2 separate regions of the Homo sapiens genome follow, and region 1 is linked to region 2. Evidence: promoter capture Hi-C in 16 types of primary human blood cells and fetal thymus (Javierre and others, 2016). All regions are on one chromosome and are shown on one strand. The core of a region is centred on a gene start or on the middle of the fragment in contact, and the rest is flanking DNA. Distances in the headings are between cores, read along the strand shown.

Region 1 (4,189 bases), core at 1,036-3,535, 74 kb before region 2:
GGTAATTCCAACATCTGAACTTTTTGAGGATCTGGTTTTGTTGTTGATGTAGCTACTGCTTCTTGCTCTTGGGGTCTAGTTTTCTTGTGTGATTGGTCATCTTTTGTTGAGACAGGATGTTGCTCTGTTGCTCAGGCTGAGTACAGTGACATGATCATGGCTCACTGCAGCCTCAGCTTCCTGGGCTCAAGTGATCTTCCTGCCCAAAGTTCCAGGCTAGCAAATAGTAGTTCTAAGACCAGAATCTAGGCCACCTATCTCTCTAATAAATGCTCCTGAGTACTGGGTTACTCTCCCTCTCTTTTGTATGTATGTAATATCCCATTTCATAATAAAAAGAAGTCAGCCATGGTGGCTCATGCCTGTAGTCCCAAGTTCTCAGGAGGCAAAGGCAGAAGGAATGCTTGAGCTCAGGTGTTTGAGTCCTGTCTGGGCAACACAGAGAGACCCTATCTTTAAAAAATATATAAAAGAATATACAAAGAACTGAAAAGGAGAAAAATGCTTGGCACTAATACCCTAAGGACTAATGCCATTAAAACTATTTTGCAAGAAGATTAAATATACGTATGTAGCTATATATGTGTCATTGTAATGAAAAATAACATCAAAAAGTTAATAATCATTTGCCTGTGTTACTTTTACTGTCTTCCCATTTTTCTTCATTTTTCCCAATTGTCTGCAGTGAACATGTATTACTTTTAAACTCAAGGGAAGAAAATAATACTATTTTAAAATACTCTTGCCCACAGCTTTTTTATTTAATTGCATATCCTAAATCACATGGTAAACTGCATAGTCTAATTATATCTTGCCTGGGAGATAAAAGACAATTTTGAGTATTGCTGTGATCCAAAAAGGGCCTTCACTGTGTATCCAAGGGCAAATAGCGTTTCAAATTTCAATAGAAAATGTTAAGGGCTAGTAAAGAGTTGCTTTGAGCTGGTCTTAACATTGGCTTTGACCATTTTTTTTTTTCTTTTTTTTTTTTTTTGAGACAGAGTTTCACTCTTGTTGCCCAGGCTAGACTGCAATGGTGCGATTTCGGCTCACTTCAACCTCCGCCTCCCAGGTTCAAGAGATTCTCCTGCCTCAGGCTCCCAAGTAGCTGAGATTACAGGCATGTACCACCATGCCCGGCTAATTTTTTGTATTTTTAATAGAGACGGGGTTTCACCATGTTGGCCAGGCTGGTCTCAAACTCCTGACCTCAGGTGATCCGCCTGCCTCAGCCTCCAATAGTGCTGGGATTACAGCCGTGAGTCACTGCGCCTGGCCTGCCTTGACCATTTTTTACATGGCTTTAGGGTAATCTCATCCTATCTAGGGCAGACAGGTATGCTGGGCTCCTCTGTCTATAGCCACCCCATTAAATAAGGAGAGATACAGATGGACTGTTATGCAACAATCAATAAATAGACTTCACAGTGCAGAGATTAGTTGCCTGACTAGCAAGTTTAGACAAACAGTCCTTAAATGGGAGTGTGAGGCTCCTGCTGACATTCAGGAAAGCATCTGAGGCTGTGAAGGGGTGCATGGTAACTTCAAATTGTGTGGTGCTAAACCCACAGAGTCACAGAAGATCTGCATCAGTTTTGCTTTCCGGAGGAGGGAGATTTTGCTTTCCAGAGGAACAGAGATTTTTTTTTTTTTTGAATGTAGAAAAAAACTCTTTAGAAACAGGTAAAGGTAGAGTTTGGTAGCATTATCCAGTCAAGGAAACACTAACAAGGCTGGGCGCGGTGGTTCATGCCTCTAATCCCAGCACTTTGGGAGGCTGACGCAGGAGGATCACTTGAGTTCAGGAGTTTGAGACCAGCCTGGGGAACAAAGTGAGACCCCATCTCTATTTTTTTAATTAAATTAATTTTTTTTAATTAGCCAGGTACAGTGGCATGCACCTGTAGTCCCAGCTACTTGGAAGGCTGAGGCAGGGGGATTGCTTAAGCCCAGGAGTTCGAGGCTGCAGTGAGCTATGACTGCAGCATTGCACTCCAGCCTAGGCAACAGAATGAGACTCCATCTCTAAAAAAGGAAAGAAGAAAGAAAAAAGAAAACCCTAAACTAACAGGGCAATCTGTAGAGGTACCCTGGCATCTAAGTACTAGCACTGAGTCTCCAGATTAAGCAAGGACAGGAACAGCAGGCTCTGCTCAGAGCAGCCCAAGTTTAGTATCACTTTTCTTAAAAGCTTAATATACCAAAAACACCCCATATTGACTCTGTAAAGTAATTACCCCCAAATTACCCACTATCAATTTCTAGGAAAACAACCAGAAAAGCACTGTGGAACACTCACATTTCAATGACCTCTCTCATCACCTGCTCCCCTTCTTTCATTTACTAGTTTGTGAATTGGAGGAAATCACTAACTTTCCCTAAGCTTCAGTTCCCAAAGGGATATAATTATACTTGCCTCACAGTGCTGTTGTGAAAATGAAATGACACAGTGGCTGTAATGCCCACCACAGTGTCCTGCAGAGGCTCTGGAAGTGTGTTCCAATGTAGTCCCATCTATTCAACCACTGAGTCACACCACACACACACACACGCTCTCACACACACACACACACCCCTTGGTGTTGCCTAGGCAAACAGCCTTCTAAAGTCACTCCTGTCTGGCTCAGGACCTCCAAAATCAAGATTAAGAATCCAAACATATTAAAGTGAGAATTGGGAGTTATTTTCACTTCAGATTTCATTTAAAAATAACAAATTACAAAACAGTAGCTAGAAAGGGAACCTGCTAATGCATATTCATGAGGACTGCTAACCAGAAATAAAGACAAAAGCTGTCTTTTCTTGTAACATTAAAGTGAAAACAAATAAGATACGGAGAAGGCAGCACGACAGCCAGAACGATACTTCCATTTCAGGGATGAGGGAATTTGATATAACTTATGACAAGGGCTTGGTAACACACAACCCCTGGGAATTCTAATGAACACAACCCCTGCAGACTTCAACGGAGTTCCATCTTGAACATCCAAGGGCAGTCATCTGGCTCATGGCGAATAGATCTAACTCTTGGCTACTTAGCCAAAGAAGATTGAGAAATTTGAATAAAAATTAAGAACAAGAGCTTTTAAAATGTTTCTTTTTAATAAAGTACAGTCCCATACTTCATTAACTTCAGTTTATGCTGAAGACAATTATACATCTTCCTTGAGCCAAGAACCTGGGGAAATATAAGAAATAAAAACTGGAATTTCTTCATGGTTTTATGTTGGGGGTGTGTGCTTGGTTTTTTTCTTCTGACTCTCAAAGGAGTCTGAGATGCGTAACTGAACTTCCTACTCTGAAAAATGACCATCATGATAACATACCATTAAGACTCAGGGCTTTGAAGTGGTGCATTTGGTTTAAGAACAGGTTGATGAGAACATGAGGTATTTGATTTTCTGTTCCTAAGTTAGTTCACCAAGGATAATAGCCTCCAGCTCTTATAAGTGGGAGCTAAATGATAAGAACTTATGAAAACAAAGAAGGGAACAGCAGACACTGGGGTCTACTTGATCTGGGAGGGTGGGAGGAAGAAGCAGAAAAGATAACTATTGGGTACTGGGCTTAATACCTGGGTGATGAAATAATATGTACAACAAACCCCAAAGACATGTGTTTACCTATGTAACAAACCTTCACATGTGCCCCCAAATCTAAAATAAAAGTCAAAAAAACCCAATAATAAAAATTTAAAAAAGAGGAGAGAACCCTTGATCCAGCCAAAGAAAAACAAAAACAAAACCAAAAACAAAAAACAGGTTGGGGGTGAACTGGTAGAAAAAAAATAAAGAATTGTTGAAGGGCACAAGATGGGAGATGGGTTGGGGGAAAGAAAAGCTCCTATTTCCATATGAATTTGAAGGTTGTATTTGAACTTTTAAAAACCTGAAAGTAGCTAAAAAAAAATCCATCAGTTCTGTTAAGAGTCCTCTTCAAAGGAAAGGAGATTTGGCAGAGGAGATTTGAAGGCAGTGATAAGAGTAAAAATAAAAACCCTTTTCATGTTTTTACCTCTGGTGCTTAAACTGCCCTTGGATTACAGCGCTTTTCTCACTGTAAAGTATTAATACATATGAATCCTGAGCCTCCTGTTAAAACACATGCTCTGATTCAGCAAGTCTAGGGTAGGACCCACAACTTTGCTTTCTAACAAGCTCTGGGTGATGTCCACACTGCTGGTTTATTG
Region 2 (3,946 bases), core at 174-2,673:
GGGGCCACCCGCCAGCGTACGGGGGACGAAGATGTGGCCGCGGGCGCGGGCGGGAGGGGAGGCGATCCGGGGAAGGAAGCGGCCTGTTCGCCAGCCCCGGGGCCCGGGGAGCCCTCCAGCAGCGCTTGCGGCCCTGAGGACACCGCTTTGGGAGAAATGACGACTCCCTTGCTCACCCTACTGCGACACCCCGTCCCCCTCCGCACTCTAGCAGATGCGGGCCGGGAGTAGCTGAGCTGGCCAACCGCCTGGGACCAGGATGCGGCAGCGCCCACCCGCGCGGCGTGGAGGGGGCCGGGGGCGGCGCTCGGCGCAGATGGCGCTCGCTGCGAGATGGATGCTCCAGGGCGGGTAATCACTCCTGGCTCAACACAGCATCCCGGGCGGAGCGGATGCCAGATCCCACCGCTAAGAGCCTGGGCTGGGAAAGCAATCTTTCCAGGCAGCCCCCAGCCCGGTGCGCCGGCCCCGACAAGTCCCAGCCCTCGGAGGCAGGGCGGGGCGCAGGGACTCCCGGGACCCGCACCTGTAAGGCCGACAAAGCCCCCGCAAGCGCCCCACCCCTCTGTCCTCCGTGTCTCTCTCGTTCCGCCTCGATTCCCCGAGCCCTCTCCAGGCAGCGACTGGAGAAGCGAAGTCGGCCTCGCCCCCGAACTCCGTGGTCAGCACAGGTGTACGCACTTCCGAACAAAGCCCACGCCCAGACGTGTCCGCAGGGGCCCGAACAGGCACACGCCCGTGCGCTCCCGGCCCGGCCCCCGCGCTCCTCGCCCCGCCGGCACTGTGGCGTGACGCCCCGCGCCTCCGTGTCCAAGCCCGGGAAGCCGCCGTGCCGGGCCCGCAGGCTCTCCATGCCCAACTGCCCACGAGCAAGAGCTCTGGGCAGGGCTTCCCGGAAAGCGTGGGGTGCGGGCGCGGAGCAGAAGTTGGCCACAGGCTGGAGGGGGTGGTGGGTGCCGGCGCTGCTGGATTTCAGCTGTGCCTTCACCCAAGCGCAGGTCCCCCTGCTCCCTCTCGGCGCCCGCGGGAGTGTCGGGGGCCTGCAGGGGAGAAGGGAGTTGGAGATCTGCTTTGCCCCTCCTGCAGCGCTGCCAGCCCGGTGAGCGCTCGGCTGAACCCCGCGGCGGTGTCCAAGTGACAACGCAGCAGCCTCGCGCGTCCTCCTCCGCTCCAGCCGTCACCCCCGAGCAGGACCCAGTGTCACCGCCAGACGCGCAAGGAGCTACTTACGTTCTCGCGCCGCGCCCTCCGCTCAGCTCTGGCGCGACTGCCCAGGACCCTGGACCGCCGGTGTCCTCCGTTCTCGACGAAGCTATCCCCTCTGGCTGCTCCAGCCAGGCGGCCCCTGCGCCGTCCCCCGCGCCCGCGCGTCTGAGGCTCGGACTGCGGCGCGCGTCCGCCAGCGACCCTGGCGAAGCGAGGCTGGCCCCGCGCCGGCGCGCGCCCCCGCCGCTCCCGCCCTCTCCGCTCCCCCTCCCCGCGCCGTGCTTTTGCCCCTCCCGGCTCTCCTTAGCGTCCTCCCGTCCCCCTCCCCCGCACTCCCTGCGGGCGTCCTCCGCCTCCTCCCCTCCTGGCCAACCCCCTCTTGCCCTGCTGCTGCGACGGCAGCGAATGGGCTCCAGCCGCCGGCGCCTCGAGGGACTGGGTGGCCCCTCACCTGAGCGGCCGCCCCACCGCCAACCTCCGTCAGCCTGCGAGCGCGTGTGGCGGCGGGGGTGGGGGTGCGGGGACGGAGGGCGGGAGTGTTCCGGGGCTAGGATGGCTGGGATTTAGCTACAAAAGATGTTCCAGAAAATGGGTAGTTTTTGAATGCCACTCTCATGGGTTTAGCTTTCTGTGGGAGGTCTGTGGTCTTCTAGTTTTTTCTTTTTTAAAAAGCACTTTCTTCGAAATTCATCAGTTGGGGTGGTTGAGATTGGGTGAGTGGTTTTGGGGGTTTTGTTTTGTTTTTGCAACCGTTCTTTCCAAACACTCCCCGCCGCCCCCCACCACCGCAGAAAAAAGAGCTTTTAGCATAAGGCGGATGCTATCTATCCGCGGTAGAAACTGGGTCTTCTGGTCCCAAGGAATAGGGTTAGTTCGGATTTGCTTATTTACAAATGGGGGAGTATTATGGAGATTTTTTTTTTTTTTTTTTGGCAATGTAAATCGAGAATTAAGATTTTCCAACTGTATAGTATTTGAGTAAACACACTGCTTGCTGCATAGTTCAGGCTCCGAAGCGCACGTCTCCACTCTATCGTGGATGGTGTTCAGGATCCTTAGCCTGACCCTTGGGTCCTCCGTAATCTACTCCGGTCTGCACACAAATTACTTGTCTGCTGGGTATCACCCGACTTGACCACTTACAGCAGGCTCCAGCGCTTAGTGAGCTCAGCGGAGCCTTGATTCCTTCAGTTCTCTAATTCAGGAAAACATTTTCTGAGCTCCTCACCACCCCACCCCACCTCACCACCTCCTCCACCCCCAGCCTCCAAGGTGCTGGGGCAAGATTCAGGAATGAAAAAGAAACAGGTTCATCCTTCAAGGTCTTGACTACCCCAGTGGTCTGTTCTAACTTCAATTTGAACTTGCCCCGTCAGCTCACAGCATCTGCATGCAAGTGAGCAGCCTTCTTTTCCTTCTCCTTCTACTGCCATCCTCTCCTCCTTCTCCAGCCAAATGTGCTCTGGCCTCACAGAGCCTCCCTCGGTTCCTGAACCAGCATGATATCTGGCTGCTGGGTCATTGCACAAGTTGTTTCCACAGTCCCATCAGTGGTTCTTCTGACTCTAGTCCTTACCCAACTGCCATTCAGGTGGTACCTTGCACCTCTCAACTAATTGTCCAAATTTTCCTCTAAAATACCTTCCCCCCCGCAAAAAAAAAGATTCCATGATCCCCCTACTTGAAAGTCTGGGCTGGTGGGCTGGTTCTCTATTGCCTACAAAGTAAATTCCACATCTCCTGGTGTGCCTCTTTACAATCTGCTCCTAACTTATCTCTCCATTTTCCATAACTCTAAGCCTCTGCATGTGAGGTTCCTCCTAGCTAGAATATTGGTCCATCTCTTTTTCATTTGGCAAACTCTTGTTCATCCTTCAGAGCCTTACTTGGTTGTTACCTCCTCTGTAAGGACTATTATAATAGTGCTGGTCACCTTTTAATGATCTGTTTGCATGTCTGACTCCATAAAATTTCACTTCTTTGAGGACAATTTGTCTTATTTATTTTTGTGTAACCACATTTCTCATCAATACAAATGAAGCCACAGATAACCATAATCAACTCTCACTGCCCCATCATTTTGCCCTGTGTAAAGGACTTGAGGCCCCTCCGTTCCTTCCCCACTGCAGTAATTGCTGAGAATCCTGGGGTTGTCTTGCCTGTCCTTCCCATGTCCTTCTACTTCGTACTCTGGTTTTCCAAGATTGCCCCTCACCCCGGCCACTGAGAAACATTGATTTCTGGTCCACATTATTTTCCAGTGAATGCCACAGGGCAAACCTGTCAAGTGGGAAAATGACACCCTACTCTCTTCAGTTCTTGCCCTGGTTCTGTGTAGTAATTTATCCCCCGGGCACTGAAGCAACATTGCTTGTGTCTTCCTGTGTTACAATCTCATAAAGACCCTCTTTAAACAGCTCCTTGAACTTCTGCTTAGAATTGTTCTTTCTCTTCAGGCTCCAGTCCTGGTCTATGAAGCCAGGTTGAGGCAGACGATATTTGGTCCTGGTGAAGTCCAGGTTAGTCCTGATGCCTGGGAGACTACTTAGGCTATTGGGGGTTGCTGAAAGAATAAGGACATGAATAGAATCTCTCTCTTTTTTTTTTATGTGAGTGATGATTTCTCAGGTATAGTTTCCCTTACCTTTACAGGTAGAGTAACAATACTTAATACATAAGGTTATTGTAAGAAAGCACTGGACAGTATCTAGGACATAATAGGTGCTCAGCAAATTCTAGT

What was found. The method cuts DNA at HindIII sites, captures the fragments that hold promoters and counts their contacts. A CHiCAGO score of 5 or more calls a contact.
Region 1: a contact is called between a fragment that was not itself captured here and the fragment with the promoter of NRCAM in region 2, in 1 of 17 cell types (naive B cells). The highest score is 5.1, in naive B cells.

The regions. Positions count from the first base shown.
Region 1 is chr7:108,380,583-108,384,771 of GRCh38, forward strand. All of the region lies in intron 2 of NRCAM (neuronal cell adhesion molecule), which reads right to left. Among named protein-coding and RNA genes, the nearest start is that of NRCAM, 74 kb to the right of the region's middle. The HindIII fragment of the contact is 192 bases long and covers 2,190-2,381 here.
Region 2 is chr7:108,455,013-108,458,958 of GRCh38, forward strand. It overlaps NRCAM (neuronal cell adhesion molecule), which reads right to left and starts at 1,424. Exons shown (of 33, transcript NM_001037132.4): 1 at 1,231-1,424. The HindIII fragment of the contact is 7,436 bases long and covers 1-3,946 here.